Linked DNA regions of Homo sapiens: region 2 is linked to region 1. Evidence: promoter capture Hi-C in 16 types of primary human blood cells and fetal thymus (Javierre and others, 2016). All regions are on one chromosome and are shown on one strand. Each heading gives the region's core, a stretch centred on a gene start or on the middle of the fragment in contact. The rest is flanking DNA. Distances are from core to core; before and after follow the strand shown. Region 1 holds the start of XRN2 (5'-3' exoribonuclease 2). Region 2 overlaps CRNKL1 (crooked neck pre-mRNA splicing factor 1).

Evidence for each region. Contacts are between HindIII fragments. The CHiCAGO score rates a contact against its expected background, and 5 or more counts as called.
Region 2: a contact is called between a fragment that was not itself captured here and the fragment with the promoter of XRN2 in region 1, in 4 of 17 cell types (fetal thymus, naive CD8 T cells, non-activated CD4 T cells and 1 more). The highest score is 11.1, in fetal thymus.

The regions. Positions count from the first base shown.
Region 1 is chr20:21,297,467-21,304,580 of GRCh38, reverse strand. It overlaps XRN2 (5'-3' exoribonuclease 2), which reads right to left and starts at 1,250. Exons shown (of 30, transcript NM_012255.5): 1 at 1,108-1,250. The coding sequence starts at 1,182. RefSeq lists an enhancer at 653-702 and a silencer at 1,423-1,552. The HindIII fragment of the contact is 6,284 bases long and covers 1-6,131 here.
Region 2 is chr20:20,041,064-20,048,487 of GRCh38, reverse strand. It overlaps CRNKL1 (crooked neck pre-mRNA splicing factor 1), which reads left to right. Exons shown (of 14, transcript NM_001278628.2): 4 at 1-145; 5 at 557-723; 6 at 3,002-3,180; 7 at 4,826-4,996; 8 at 5,972-6,163; 9 at 6,863-6,922. Among named protein-coding and RNA genes, the nearest start is that of CRNKL1, 7.7 kb to the left of the region's middle. The HindIII fragment of the contact is 1,772 bases long and covers 365-2,136 here.

The DNA of each region.
Region 1 (7,114 bases), core at 1-2,500:
GTTAAAGGTGGAGAAATGGGATGAGAAGGGGTAGAGCAAGAACTGTTGCTTTTTGTTTAACCCACGTGCAAGTAAAGTTCAATAAAGTTCGATTAAAATTTTACAAAGGAAACAAGTATTCAATTTAGCAGTTGCTTTTTGAAAAAAACAAGAAATAGTGGGAATGTCACTAAGACAAGGCTTTTGGTTCCTCCTTGGATAGAAGCCAAGAAAGTTAAAAAAAAAAAAAAAAGCAGAAATAAGTTCACAGTGACAGGCAAGCACTGCCTTCAAAAACTAAGGAGTGAGGTACGCGTGATGTGCCTCTGAACGTTTCCAATCCAGAAATTCTAATTAAGAGCACAAAATCGAATCCGCATGGAATGACGAAAACAATAAAAACAAAACTCAATAATGGCCAAAAATCTACTTACGTATTAACTAACAACAAAAATTGTACTGCTCAAGTACATCCAGTAATCTTGAAATTTTCAACAAGCACCCACCCCGTTCAGTAGTCAGGGCACACAGAGAAGGGTAACTTCTCAGAATTCTATAGCGCTCATCCTGGACCTGACATACTGCTTTCAGCGTCCAATCTAACCAGAACAACAAATGGTCCTGAACACTAGGAGAAAACCTTTCCGGCACAATTGGTAAACAACGAAAAGGTCGCCGCCAGGGATTCCTTTACAAGGTTGTCAAAAAGCTGGCCTCCGAATCCGTGCATCCATAACCCGCTAGCTCAGCTGACCTGGCATGCATTGCTCAACAACAGCCTCTGAACCTCTTCCGAGACCCAAAATGCGCGGTCTGGAGAGGAAACAAAGCAGTGGGCGGGGCCTTCCGGTGCCGGGAAAAAGCGAGTAGGGGAGGAGCGACCCTCCTGCGAGTTCGGAACCCTATAGGCCCTTGCCCCGCCGAGGGTCCTGAATTCCTCGCCCCCGGGGTGCTGAATCCCACAGCCCGCGTCCCATCGCGTGTGGGGCTGCGACTGCTCGCGAGGCTGGCAGCAGGGCGCGAGCTCCGGCAAGGCTCCCCGGGGGCAGGCGGCGGAGCCCATGGGCCGCGGCCTAGACGTGCCGGGGGCCCGGGCTCGAGTGTGGCGGCCGCCTGGCGCCTCCTCACCTTCTCTTCCACGCAGTTGACTATGATGGACGGGTACTTGCGGCTGAGCCAGCGGAAGAACGCCGGGACTCCCATAGCGGCACACGGCTGGAGGCGGCGGCCGACCGGCTGACGAGCGTAACCAAAGAGACGGGAGCAGCGGCAGAGGGCACCAGCACTTCCTCCCACGTGCGCGCTGGAGAACGGAAGTGACGTCACGGCGCCGCCGCCGGGGAAGCTGGGAAGGAGGCTTCGCTGGATGAGGGAGCGGCGGAAAAGGGCCTTGCCGGGCTGTTTGTGGGAGGCGGAGTCCGGCGGCGGACCGGGTGGCGAAGGCTGCAGCTCGCCCTCGGTGGTCCCAGCCCCGGAGCGCGAGGCCGAGCGCGTCTGAGTTGCGGGGGCTCACGGGCGACTGCTCTGCCGGGGCTCCGCCGGGATCTCCCAGCCCCAGCCCTCCGGCTCCCTGGGCACAGAATCGCTGCGCTCTGCATGCCCGGGAGGAGGTCTCCCTTGCCCGTTTGGTCACCTCTTGTTTGGAAGAAAATGTCTTTTTTTGCCTCTATGCTCACCCGTCTCAATCTAGGGTAGAATCGAAGCATCCAAACTTACTCGTTACTTCCATTTCCTGGTTTCTCCTAGTTTTGTGCTGCAGTACGTACCTGGACTATCAAAAGGAGCATTTTAAAGCATTTTACAGTAATAATGGCTGCTTTGCACCAATAATTTGATTGTTATGCAAATAAATAATTATGATAGTTACCGAATGGAATCTAGCCGGTATTTAGCATCCAATACAATCTTCCAGCTACAATTACGGGTATAAAATAGTTGCTAATATGATTTTCCAGCATTTACTGAGCCTTTACAGTGTACCAAGACATTGACTAAGGGATTGTCCTATGTAATCTTCACTTGAACCTTGTGAGGGTACTGTTAGCACCCTCGTGTAAATGATAAGAAAGCCAAGTTACAGAGGAGTTAAGTCACTTATGCACATAGCTTCTGTTTCAGTTCAAGCAAAGGTCATTTTTAATCCATCCTTGTTCTAACACGATACTTTTATCTTTTGTTTTCTGGTGGTCCCAAACGAATTTTTTCCATATGAAAGGAGAGGTCTGGAAGAGGAGGTATATTTGTCCGTTTGCTCAAGCCTGGAAGTCTCCCTGAATCCCCTCTTGGTTTGACACACATCACACACGATGCTAAATGCTCACCTCATGAGGCCTCTGTGAAAGTATTTCGCCGAGTTACCTCACAGGCAGTATTTATTGCCCCCTCCTCTGTGGTCTGATGACTACTTTGTTTAAACTACTAGTGTGGAAATTAGAGAAATAGTCATCCCGTGTTTTACTTAAGGATAGCCAAAACTATTCCAAAGTATTATGTCTATGGTGAAATTCCTCCTTTTACCTGGAAGCAGCCCCTCTGGTTTCCCTGGGAGGTGCTGTTATAGGAACATGTACACCATAGGCAGTTCAGGGATAGACAGCTGGCCAAGTTGAGCCATTTAGAATCCTTAACCAGCATTTTGGCGGGTTGGGAGGGTTTATTGTTTTGTTTTTGTTTTTTCAGACGGAGTCTCAGTCATCCAGGCTGGAGTGCAGTGGCAAGATCCAGGCTCACTGCAACCTCCACCTCCCGGGTTCAAGCGATTCTCCTGCCTCAGCCTCCCGAGTAGCTGGGATTAGAGGCGCCTGCCATGACACCCCGCTGATTTTTGTGTTTTTAGTTGAGACAGGGTTTCACCATGTTGGCCAGGCTGGTCTCGAACTCCTAACCTCAGGTGATCTGCCCACCTCGGCCTTCCAGAGTGCTGGGATTACAGGTGTGAGCCACTGCACCCAGCCTTACCAGCATTTTTGAGCTTTGAACCATAAGAAATTTAAGACTGCATCTTTCCAGTGCGTGAACGCTAAAAGATAAGAATTGGGACTTGTTGCCAGTAGGCAATGAGAGAAGCAGGGTTAATTCCCTGGTTCCAGTTAAATCCCTCTCTTCCTGCAGTTTGATTAAGTCTGTCCTTTGATTCTGTGAGCCAAATTTTTTTTTTTTTTTTTTTTTAAGACAGAGTCTCACTCTGTTGCCAGGCTGGAGTGCAGTGGCACCATCTCGGTTCACTGCAACCTCCACCTCCCAGGTTCAAGCGATTCTCCTGCCTCAGCCTCCCAAGTAGCCGGGACTACCAATGTGCGCCACCACGCCCGGCTAATTTTTGTATTTTTAGTAGAGATGGGGTTTTACCATGTTGGCCAGGATGGTCTCAATCTCTTGACCTTGTGATCCGCCCGCCTTGGCCTCCCAAAGTGCTGGGATTCCAGGTGTGAGCCACCACTCCCAGCCAAAAGTTTCCTTTTGCCCTAAGCTGGCTTGGGCTAAATTCTTATCCCTTACAAAGGAAAGAGTCCAGTAACAAAATTTGGGGAGTGCAAGCTAATTCACCTGGGTGGTGAAATTGGTTTGCATAGAAGTACTAAAATTGGAGTTTTGGCACTCAGAGAAGGAGTGGGTAAAAGAGAGAAGAAACTTGAAAGGCGGCAGGAGGATATGGACTAAGTATTGTGACACTTTCCCTGGCCCAATGTGTCCAGTAAAGCCTGTCAGACTCAGGCTTGGTATGGGTTTTTCTTGTAGAAATCAAATAAAAAGTCTCCAGTTGGGGTCACTGTGGTTTGGAACCACCACGGGGTGGGCAACATAGCAGACCTCTAGAAGCAGAAGAGGTGAGAATTTATTAGTGTTGGAAATTAGCAGGGAGGCCAGGTGTGGTGGTTCACATCTGTAATCCTAGCAAATGGGGAGACTAAGACAGGAGGATCACTTGAGCCCAAGAGTTTAAGGCTGCAGTGAGCTATGATTGCACCACTGTGCTACAGCCTGGGTGACAGAGCGAGAAGCTATCTAAAAAAAAAAAAAAAAAAAAAAAGAAAATAAATTAGCAGAAATACTGAACCAGACTTTGGACTTATACAGGCAGAGAACCCAGAGGTTTTGAAACATTTTTGCCCAGATCTCAAAGGGAGAGAGGAAGGCCACAGCTAGTATCTGGATTACATTAATGTGAAAAACAATATGAAAAATATATAATATGTGGAAACTAGGATGTTTTTAAATATTCATCAATTCATTTTTAAGCCCCATTAACATTGTAATTATCATAGAAAAAAATTCTCAGTTTTTTTTTGCCTACTATTGGTCCTTCTACCAAGTGATTCCTTTCCTTCTTTATCCTTACAAAATTCATTGTGAATAACCTGATGTATTTAAAACAGTAATTGTGGCCATTTTGGGTTGAGATAAACATTTTTAATCAGTAGAGTAAAGCAGATTGCCCTCCATAATGTGAGTGGACCTCATTTCATCAGTTGAAGGCCTGAATAGAACAAAAAGTCTGGCCCCCAAGCAAGAGGGAATTCTCTAGCCAACTGCCTTGAGATGTAATCTGCCTCCTGAGTCCTGAATCTGCTGGCCTACACTGCAGATTTGGATTAGCCAGTCTGTATAGTTACGTGAGCCAAATCCTTATAATAAATGTCTTTGTATATGCCCACATGTTGATTCCATGTCTCTAGAGAACGCTGACAGCTACAGATTCTGGTACTAGAAGTGGTTCAAGCGGAACGGAATCTTAGGGATGCATTTTTGTAATTGGTTCTGAGGTTTCTGGAAGTGGTTCTCTAGTCTGATTAGATTAAAAACAGGAATGACTTTCCAGTAGTAAATAAAACACTTGATAGTCTATGGCATGATGAAGTAGTAGAATTACACAAAATATTACCAAAACTAAAAAGAAGCAGGATCTGGGTGACCATGCGTATGATACTTTATAACATATTTGCCAAAATAACAAGTATAATGAGATTGGTTGCCCCTAATGTTGCTGGACAAAGTGGGAAAAGAAAAGGATGAGCTCAGGGATTCAAATTCCCAGCTCAAGTATAACATAAGTGACCTGAAACTTTCTATTTCTGCCCTGAAAGAGACCCTTATCTCCTATAGCTGCAGAGCCAAGATTGTTAAAAATCAACTCCGAATCACATCCTGTAAGTGGCTGAATTAAAGTGCAGATTGAATTTTTGACTTTGCAGGTTGTCTACTTCTAAAGTGAGGGCATTGATTGGGAACGAATTGGATCCTGAAAGTTGGAATGGGGGCATATGGAAAGACCTTGATGGCACTGGGGACATTGAATTCATAAGTTCCAATGAGTCATCTTTGCCCGTAGAAGCATTTTCTCCACCCCAGTAGATATATCCTCTCCACCCCCACCTGAGGGAACTAACCTTTCATTGCTTAAGGAATCTATCATGACCTCACCTGATACAGTTGTCTCGCAAGACAATGCTGATTCTCCTCAGGACACACCCCCATTACCCCTCTTGGCTTCTAGAACTTTAACTAGACTCAAGTCCTAGCAGTCCCAAAAGGTGAGGCATGAAATGTGATCCATGAGGCATACTACACTCCAAAAGAACTACTTGAGTTTTCTTATTTAGTCAGAAATTCAGGGAATATGTGTGAGAATGGAAATTAAAGGTGTGGGATAAAGATGGAAGAAACATAAAATTGAATCAGGCTGAATATATTGATAGGGGCCGATTGAGCAAGATTTCTGCATTTAATGTTGCAACTCAGGGAGTTAGTGCTATAACTGATGGGTTGGTTGACTGAAACATGGACCAAAAGGTAGACCACAGTGAGTGAGTGAGAAATGCCAGGCCTACTTGGGTTTAATGTAGAGAAGAGAAAGCTCAGGGCTGGTTTACAGGTGGTTCTGCATGATGTGCAGGCACCACCTGAAAGTGGACACTGCAGCACTACAGCCCCTGAGACTGACCTTCCCTGAGCAAGAATGGATTCTGCCAGCAGATGCACCTCTTCCCTGGGTCTCCAGCCTGCTGGCCTACCCCATCAGATTTTGGACTCATCAAGCCCCCACAATCGTGTGAGCCAATTTCTTCAAATAAAACCTTCTCACATCCTATTGGTCCTGTTTTTCAGGAGAATTCTGACTAATGCATTTTCAAGATGCTTCACCTCTCTAAGCTTCAGTTTCTTCATCTGTAAAATGAGGATCATAGACTTCATAGGTTTTCTGTGAAAATTCAGTGATACCATGCCCAGTGCACAGGCCAAAACTTGCTAAGAACCAGGAAGTGATCACCATTGTATGGCTATCTGTTGTGCTCCACACTGTTTGCTTTGAAGAAGCCTCACAATTTTATTAGCATGTTCCACTTATTTTGGACAATTTAATAATCTAACAGGCCTCATTTTGCCACTCCCCAGCTAGTATTAACTTTCTTTTCTTCCTTCTTTCCTTCCTTCCTTCCTTCCTCTCTCTCTCTTTCTCTTTCTCTCTCTGTTTCTTTCTTTATTTCCTTCTTTCTTTCTTTTTCTTTCTCTCGTGCGTTCATTCTTTTTTCTTTTTCAGACAGGATCTTTCTCTGTAACCCAGGTGGAAGTGTAGTGGCGCAATGCAACCTCCATCTCCCAGACTCAAGCAATCCTCCCACCTCAGCCTCTCAAGTAGCTTGGACTACAGGCATGCCACCACACTGTTACGGTGTTAACTTTCTCATATTGACTCTGTCTTCATTTTCCCTCACTTATATTTCCTGCTCATTCCCACTTTGCTGAGACTCATAGTCTTCCCACCACCTTTTTTACAACTCAAATTCTACTCATTCAAATTATCTCTTCCCCTCTTCTCCATAAAGTCTGTCCCAGCACATGAGCCCAAACTGACTCTTGCCCACTCCCATCTTCCACATCACTCCTGACTCTTTTCGTACATAGTATTGTGTCTTACATTATTTCCTATTTCATTTATGGACATTCTTTTTCCACTAATATTCCAGGATAAGGTAGGCTTTGCTGTAGTAACAAGTAATGCCTGAAACCTCATTAGCTTAGTTTATGTGGTATCAGGCTACTCTCCAGAGCGGTCTTCCATGTGATGACTTGGGCATCCTGCTGTTTTCATCCTGGGATTCTGCCAGCTCAACGTGGCCACCACAGTCACTACCAA
Region 2 (7,424 bases), core at 1-2,500, 1.3 Mb after region 1:
ACGAGCGTGCTTTAGATGTAGACTACCGAAATATTACACTCTGGCTGAAATACGCAGAAATGGAAATGAAGAATCGCCAAGTCAACCATGCTCGAAATATCTGGGACCGGGCCATAACAACGCTGCCTCGAGTTAATCAGTTCTGGTAAGTTTCTGATCTAACAAAACAGCCTTTTATAGACTAGCAAAGTTCCACATCTTCTGTATTTATTTTATTTACATGATGATAGTTTAATTTGATATCCTACTTTTTCTTCAGACATAAATGCTGTTATGTCCCATAGTCTATTAAGTCATAATCGTAATGTTCTATAGCTATGTAATCAAAACTAAAATTTTGATTGCAATCTTTTATTCATAAGCTTCTTGTTGAACTAGGCAACTTTTAAGAAAAAAAAATCTTTTTTTCCAATGGTTCATCCTTTTTCAGATTTACATACAAATGACAAAACATGTTTGATTTAACCTTTAAGAAAGGTAAAATCTTCAATCTTCTTCCCATTCAACAATGGAAGAACTAAACCACAGCAGATATTTTCGGGTGATTTTGTTACAGGTACAAGTACACGTACATGGAGGAAATGTTGGGAAACGTTGCCGGTGCCCGGCAGGTGTTTGAGCGCTGGATGGAGTGGCAGCCTGAGGAGCAAGCCTGGCACTCCTACATCAACTTTGAGCTGAGATACAAAGAGGTGGATCGGGCCCGCACCATTTATGAGCGATATATCCTTTGGACGAGATCTGTATGGTGCCATGATTGTCCTGGATGCTGCTGCTGCTCCTGTAGAGATGTCTCATGATCAGGACACACAGTCATTAATGTCAGGCTCAAAGTCAAGAATGCCAGTTTATCAGCTTCCCTATGTTTTGTAGGGAAAGAGATTGGTCAGAATGAAAATTTGTATTCTGGGTAACTAGTCTTTTCTAGTGAGAGTTTGGGTTTATTTTATTGTAATGCTAAAAGCTAATGTTTCCTTGTGGAAAATGATATTCCTGGGGGATTGTTTCCAGGAACTCAAGGGGATACCAAAATCGGTGATGCTTAAGTCCCTCATATAAAATGATGTAGTATTTGCATGTAACCTATGCATAGCCTCCCATATAATTCAAATAATCTCTAGATTACTTATACCTAATGCAATGTAAATGTTATATAAATAATTGTTATTCTGTATATTTTAAGGAATAATAAGCAAAAAAACGACATGTTCAATACAGAAGCACTTTTTTCTCACGAATACTTTATCTCAGGTTGGTTGAATCCACAGATATGGAACCCATGGCTGGAGGACTAACTGTACTAAGGTCCTGGCTGCCATTGCCAGTCCTGTTTTTCTAAGGTTTGTGTTGGTCATTACTACCTTACTGGAGTTCATCCAAGGTTTACTGTTTACTAGCTGTGTGGCTCCAGAGAGTCATTTAACTCCTTTGAGAGTTGGTGTCCTCTTCTTAAAAACAAGAATAAAAACACCTTTGTTGGGCTGTTGCGAAGATTAAATGATACACATGAAAGCACTTTTAGAAACTGAAGTACAGTCATTCCTCACTATTTGCAGATTCCATGTTTGCAAAATCACGTATTTGCTAAAATTTATTTGTAACCCCCAAAATCAGTAATTGTGGCACTTTCACAGTCATTTGTGGACATGCACAGAGCATGAAGTCCAACAAGGTGAGGCTTGCCTTCTGGTCTTAACCTCATATAACCATGCCTAGAGCTTGGAGACAGGAAGGGCCAGTGCCATGTAGTGCAAGGAGCTGTGGCTCTGGGGCCAGTCGGGGAGTTTGAATCCCTGTCAGTGGGGCAGCCTCAGTCCAGTCACTTAACATTTCTGAACCACTTTTCTTACAAAATAATGAAGATAGAATCTGCCAGGATGAGTTCTTTTTAGGATTTAAGATGATGATGAATGTGAGATTGTATATATACACGTTTCTCCTAGGAGCAGTGGTTCAGTACTCAATAATTAAGTGTTCGCATTGACTAAATAGAACATAACTACCAGAAATAATGAGAGTCAACTTTATTATGCAGTATTAAGATCTTTTTATTTTTTTACTCTTCTCTGTTGAGGTGACAATGTTAAGATCTTAATTATGTCTACTAATTTTAATATTATTAGTTTGACGAAAGCTTTTATAGCACTTGCTACGTGCCAGGCAGTATTCTAAGTACTTTACAGATATTGTTGTTTAATCCTCATAACATCCTTGCAGTGTAGGAACTTCTCTGTCCTACAGATGAGGGAGCTGAGGCATGAGAGATTAAGTAGCTTGACTGGGTTCTCACAGGTGCTGATGGAAATAGAATGTGAACCTAGTAGAGCAGCTTCAGAACTGATGCTCTTCTTTGCCATATTGGAATATATTACTACTTTGGAAATTAATGATTTATTCAAGGAAGATAGATTAAAATGACAATTCAAAACTTTCTGCTTTGACTCTAGTTAACAGTTTTCTTTTTATAGCATGTTTTTTTCTTAATTATTAGTTCAAGTATTCATATTTTAATATAATTGGTGCTATTTAATGACCAGACCATTATTGACCGCTTACGGTGCCATGTTCTTTTGGCTAGAAACTGTGCTAAGGGCTTTACATACATTTTCTCATTTAAAGCTGGCAGTAATCCAGTGAGGCTGGCATTATTTTTCCCTGTTTACAAATGAAACAGCTGAGACTTAGACGTCTAAGTTCAGTGACTTATCCAAGATCACATGGTTGGTAACCTGGGTTGAGATTTTTCTTTGCTTCCAACTCGAGTTTATACCCACCACTAAAATCTTAACTAAGCACTGGAGGAAAATAGAGATGAACAGGCGTGGCCCTGCTCTCACAGAAGCCACTGTTTAATTCTACACTTTTGTATGTGTTTTGTTCCCCTAGAGTTGTAGTTTGAATTTTTGGAGTTTCCAGGCTTTGGTATGGTTTTGGTGTTTACTTACTTACTATTTTTTTAAGCCATGCTGTTTTGCCTGGGATTTCCTTAATTCCCTTGCACTTGTCCTCGTGCACCCTGATGTTAAGAACTGGATCAAGTATGCCCGCTTTGAAGAAAAACATGCTTATTTTGCCCATGCACGGAAAGTGTATGAGAGAGCTGTGGAATTCTTTGGAGATGAACATATGGATGAGCACCTTTATGTTGCCTTTGCCAAGTTTGAAGAAAATCAGAAAGAGGTAAGTATACCTAACTTCATTATACTGTAAAACAGCTTAGCAAAGATTACATTTTGTGCATGGTGAGTTCATTTCCATTTTTTCTTACTGACATATCCCTGGAAAGATGTTTTCAAAATACAAAAACACAGCTTCTCACAGAGAACAGCATATATATGTGACTAAGCTACAGATGGGAGCTGATTATAGATTGTATTATAACTGTCTTAATTTTATTGTGCTTTGTTTGAAAATTAAGCCTTTTAGTCTGAATGCCCGTAAACTGAGAACTAGTCTTTTGGCATCCTAAGTAAAGGACTTAACCGATAATAAATATGGGAAACAAAAAGCTTAAAGCCCTAGAACAGAAAACATTTAGAATGGAAACAGAGATTGCCCTACAAATAAGAGAGTTCTTTTTTTCCCTTGTACCTATGAAAATAGCTCAAATATTGAGAAGATGAGGCAGAAGGATCACTTGAGGCCAGGAGTTTGAGACCAGCCTGGGCAACATAGTGAGACCCTGTCTCTAAAAAAAAAAATTGAGTGGGCATAGTGGTGCACACCTACAGTCCCAGCTACTTGGGAAGCTGAGGCAGGAGTATCACTTGAGCCTAGGAGTTTGAGACTACAATGAGCTATGTTCGTGCCATTGCACTCTAGCCTGGGTGACAGAGCAGGACCCCATTTCTTAAAAAAAAAGGGAGTTCAAATAATACAGAATTGAGATCCATCCAAATACAGGTTTGAGCATTCCCAGTCTGAAAATCCAAAACTCAAAATGTGAAACTTGTTGAGTGCTGACATGACACTCGAAGGAAATGTTCATTGGAACATTTCAGACTTCGGGTTTTTGGATTAGGGATGCTGAACCAGTAAGTATAATGCAAATATTCCCAAACTGGGGAAACATCCCAAATCCAAAACACTTCTGATACCAAATGCTTCAGACAAGAGATACTCAACCTATATAAGGTCTTGCACGGACCATGCTAGGGAGTTCAGATTCTGTTCGGGCCAGTGGGAAGCATTGAAAGGTTTTAAGCGGGACAGTGATTGGATATGATTTATATTTTAAGGAGAGCCTCTGGCTAATTCATGGAGAATGTATGAGGGTAGATGGCAAAAGTGGAACCAGGGGAGACCAGTGGGGAGACTTTTGAAGTGGGCCAGGTGAACAGTGGAGTTTGATGGCTGGGGGCTGGGGAGAAGCAAATGGCTGTGTGGAAGAGATTGAAATGGTAGGGCATGTTGCAAGAGTGAATATGGAGTATGAGGAAAAAAGAGGAATTGAGGATCACCTGAAGGTTTTGGCTTGAGCAAGTGACTGTAGGTTAGGCCTTGCCTACTAAAATTGGGAAGATGGGGAGAGTCCCAGTTTGAGTGGGGAGGAAACAGAAGCTCAGTTTTGGACCTGTTTGAGATGTGCAGTAGACATCCAGTTGGCAGTGTTAGGTAGACAGTATTAAATATGGAGCTCAAAGCAGAGTACCGGTCCATCCTGACAGAGATAACCTTCAACAAGAGGGAGAAAAGCATCTTACTCTGGATATTATGAGGCCTCAAAATCTAACTTATAAGTAATATTTTGTTATATTTACTCTCCTAGTTGTGACTGGCATGAGAATATTGTGTTATAGAAGGTAATCATCCTGTCTGCATTTAGTTTGAAAGGGTACGAGTGATTTACAAGTATGCCCTGGACAGAATTTCAAAACAAGATGCCCAAGAACTCTTTAAAAATTATACCATCTTTGAGAAGAAGTTTGGTGATAGGCGGGGTATTGAAGATATCATTGTGAGCAAACGGAGATTCCAGTACGAAGAAGAAGTGAAGGTGAGCACTGGTGTGGATGGTCAACTCTGCAGATAACCCAAGATGTGCTCATCAATACTAGCAACACTAAAATGAATAATAGCAAGTAGCACTACTAGTGATTACTCTCGTGATGATGTGCCCGTGATCCAATTGGCAGCTATTTCAGACAAGTAGGAATAAACAAGGCTGATAGAAAAGGCAAGCAAACAACACTTGGATTTGCTCTGCCACTTACATGTTGTAAGTCGTTTTGTTGATTGTTGACTGTATGTAGAACTGGAGCAAAAGAAATGTGGAATCCATTCGAGCTCATTGTTGGAAGAAGGTGGAAGAGTCAGAGATTGGTCCAAAAACCTGTTTTGCACATCACCTTTGAGCTTAACTGCCTGAACAAAAGATGTATGCTAGACAGGGTTCCATCGGCATCTCTTTTTCTGTAATGTACTATTTTGATTTCAATTCAAAGAGAGTGTCATTTTCCTTCAGTATTCTGTTGTGTATTTAAAAATACTCTTCCTTAGTCAAGTTAATTAAGATACCTCCAAGCAAAGGACTAAGTCTGTTATTAAATGTGGTGGTAGGTTAGCAAGATATGTTAAAGATGAATTGCTATTAATTGGAAAGGCAAGTTTAACAATTGTGAGCATGATACGATTCTGTTGTTACAGACATAATGATACATAGTCACATATTTAAGCAAATGCATTGGCAAGAATAGGCATCTAATTATTGACTGTCGTGAGAGTGATGGCTATAGATGAAGGAGTCCTTGCTGTGGGACACCTGGCCAGTAATCTATCCTCTGTATTCCTGTTTCTTTTCTATTTATGCAGTCTCAGGGATGGTGTTTTTAAAATGAAAGAACATGTAACATTTAGAAGAAAAGGTGCTAAAATATAGAAAGTCAGCCTGATGCCTTTTTTCAGCTTGCTTAACCTGGCAAGTGCAGCTCTTGGTTTTGTTTTTTATTTATTAAACTGGTTGTCTTTCTAGGCGAATCCACACAATTATGATGCATGGTTTGATTACTTGCGCTTGGTAGAAAGTGACGCAGAAGCTGAAGCCGTGAGAGAAGTCTATGAAAGGGCCATTGCCAATGTCCCACCCATTCAGGAGAAGAGGCACTGGAAGCGCTACATTTATCTTTGGATCAACTATGCACTCTATGAAGAATTGGAGGCAAAGGTGAAAAAACAGAATTATGTGTCAGCTGATAATGGTTTCCTGTCTTCTGTATTCACAGCTCACCTATTGTGGATGTTTGTAATTCTTGAAAGAAGGAAATTTAGTTTTAAATTTTTATAGGCTTCTGTTCATCCATACAGTTATATATTCGCTCTGCAACATTTTAAACCCTCTGTGCTTGTTGTGGCCACACGTGAGGGGCTTTTTTAACTTTGGTTTGATTTTTACTTGAGGCACAACAAGATATCACTTGGAGCTTGAAAGAGAACAGTGAACCAGCCCTTAATTTAGTGAAATATAGTTTCCTGGATTTGCTCATTAATAGGAGTAATTCTGGCTAGATTATGCATTTTTGCTTTTAGCAAAAATCAAGTGGCATTTTCAGAAATCATTTGTATTAACCTTCTGGGTTTGATCTGAGACTATGAAACATCTTTGTTTCTTTCTGCCATCAGGCAAAACGGCTTTCTACAAAGAAGGGCTTAGAAGTTTGGTGGCTATCTTGTTGGTGATTCTTAAACTGAAGTTTCATGGCCGTTCATACTTTAGATCATAAATCAGGGTTTGCAAGTAACAACTTGTGAAACATGCTGTTTTGGGGGTGTACATTTTTACCAATATCAGTAAAATTAGTAACTAGTAAAATGAGTGTTAGCAGCAGACTTCAATATTTTGTGAAAATTTCTTATCCTAATACAGGATCCTGAGAGGACAAGACAGGTGTATCAAGCCTCTTTGGAACTAATTCCTCACAAAAAGGTATGTTTGCTCTAAAGTGTTCCATTTCAAACAGGTCAGAATCCTCTTCTGTTACTTGTGAAGTAATTCAGTGAAATAATATTGATTGATAAAATGCTTCCCTGTCCCACCATGGACAACATAAATAAGACTGAGATATGCTCCTTGCCTCTGAAAACAGCTCACAGACTAGGTTGGAGGACAACCTGCATTGACAAACAAATAATATAAATTCAGAGAAGGCTAGGTAATGTGAATAGTCTGAGTGGAAGGAGAAAGACATCCATGCAGAGAGCACACAACGTGTGCGGGGGACACACAGGCGGGTTTGTTGGTAACAGTGAGTGTGTGCATGCACAGATGAATGTGCCCCTTGTGTAGATGGTTGAGATGTTACCTCCGCCTTGTTTCCCAGCACGAGAAACAAAACGTGTTTCCTTCTGTAGAAGTGTTGACTGAGTTACTTTTCAGAATAGAGGTAGGACATTCTGCCCATATACAAGCATGCCTACAAAACAAAGTC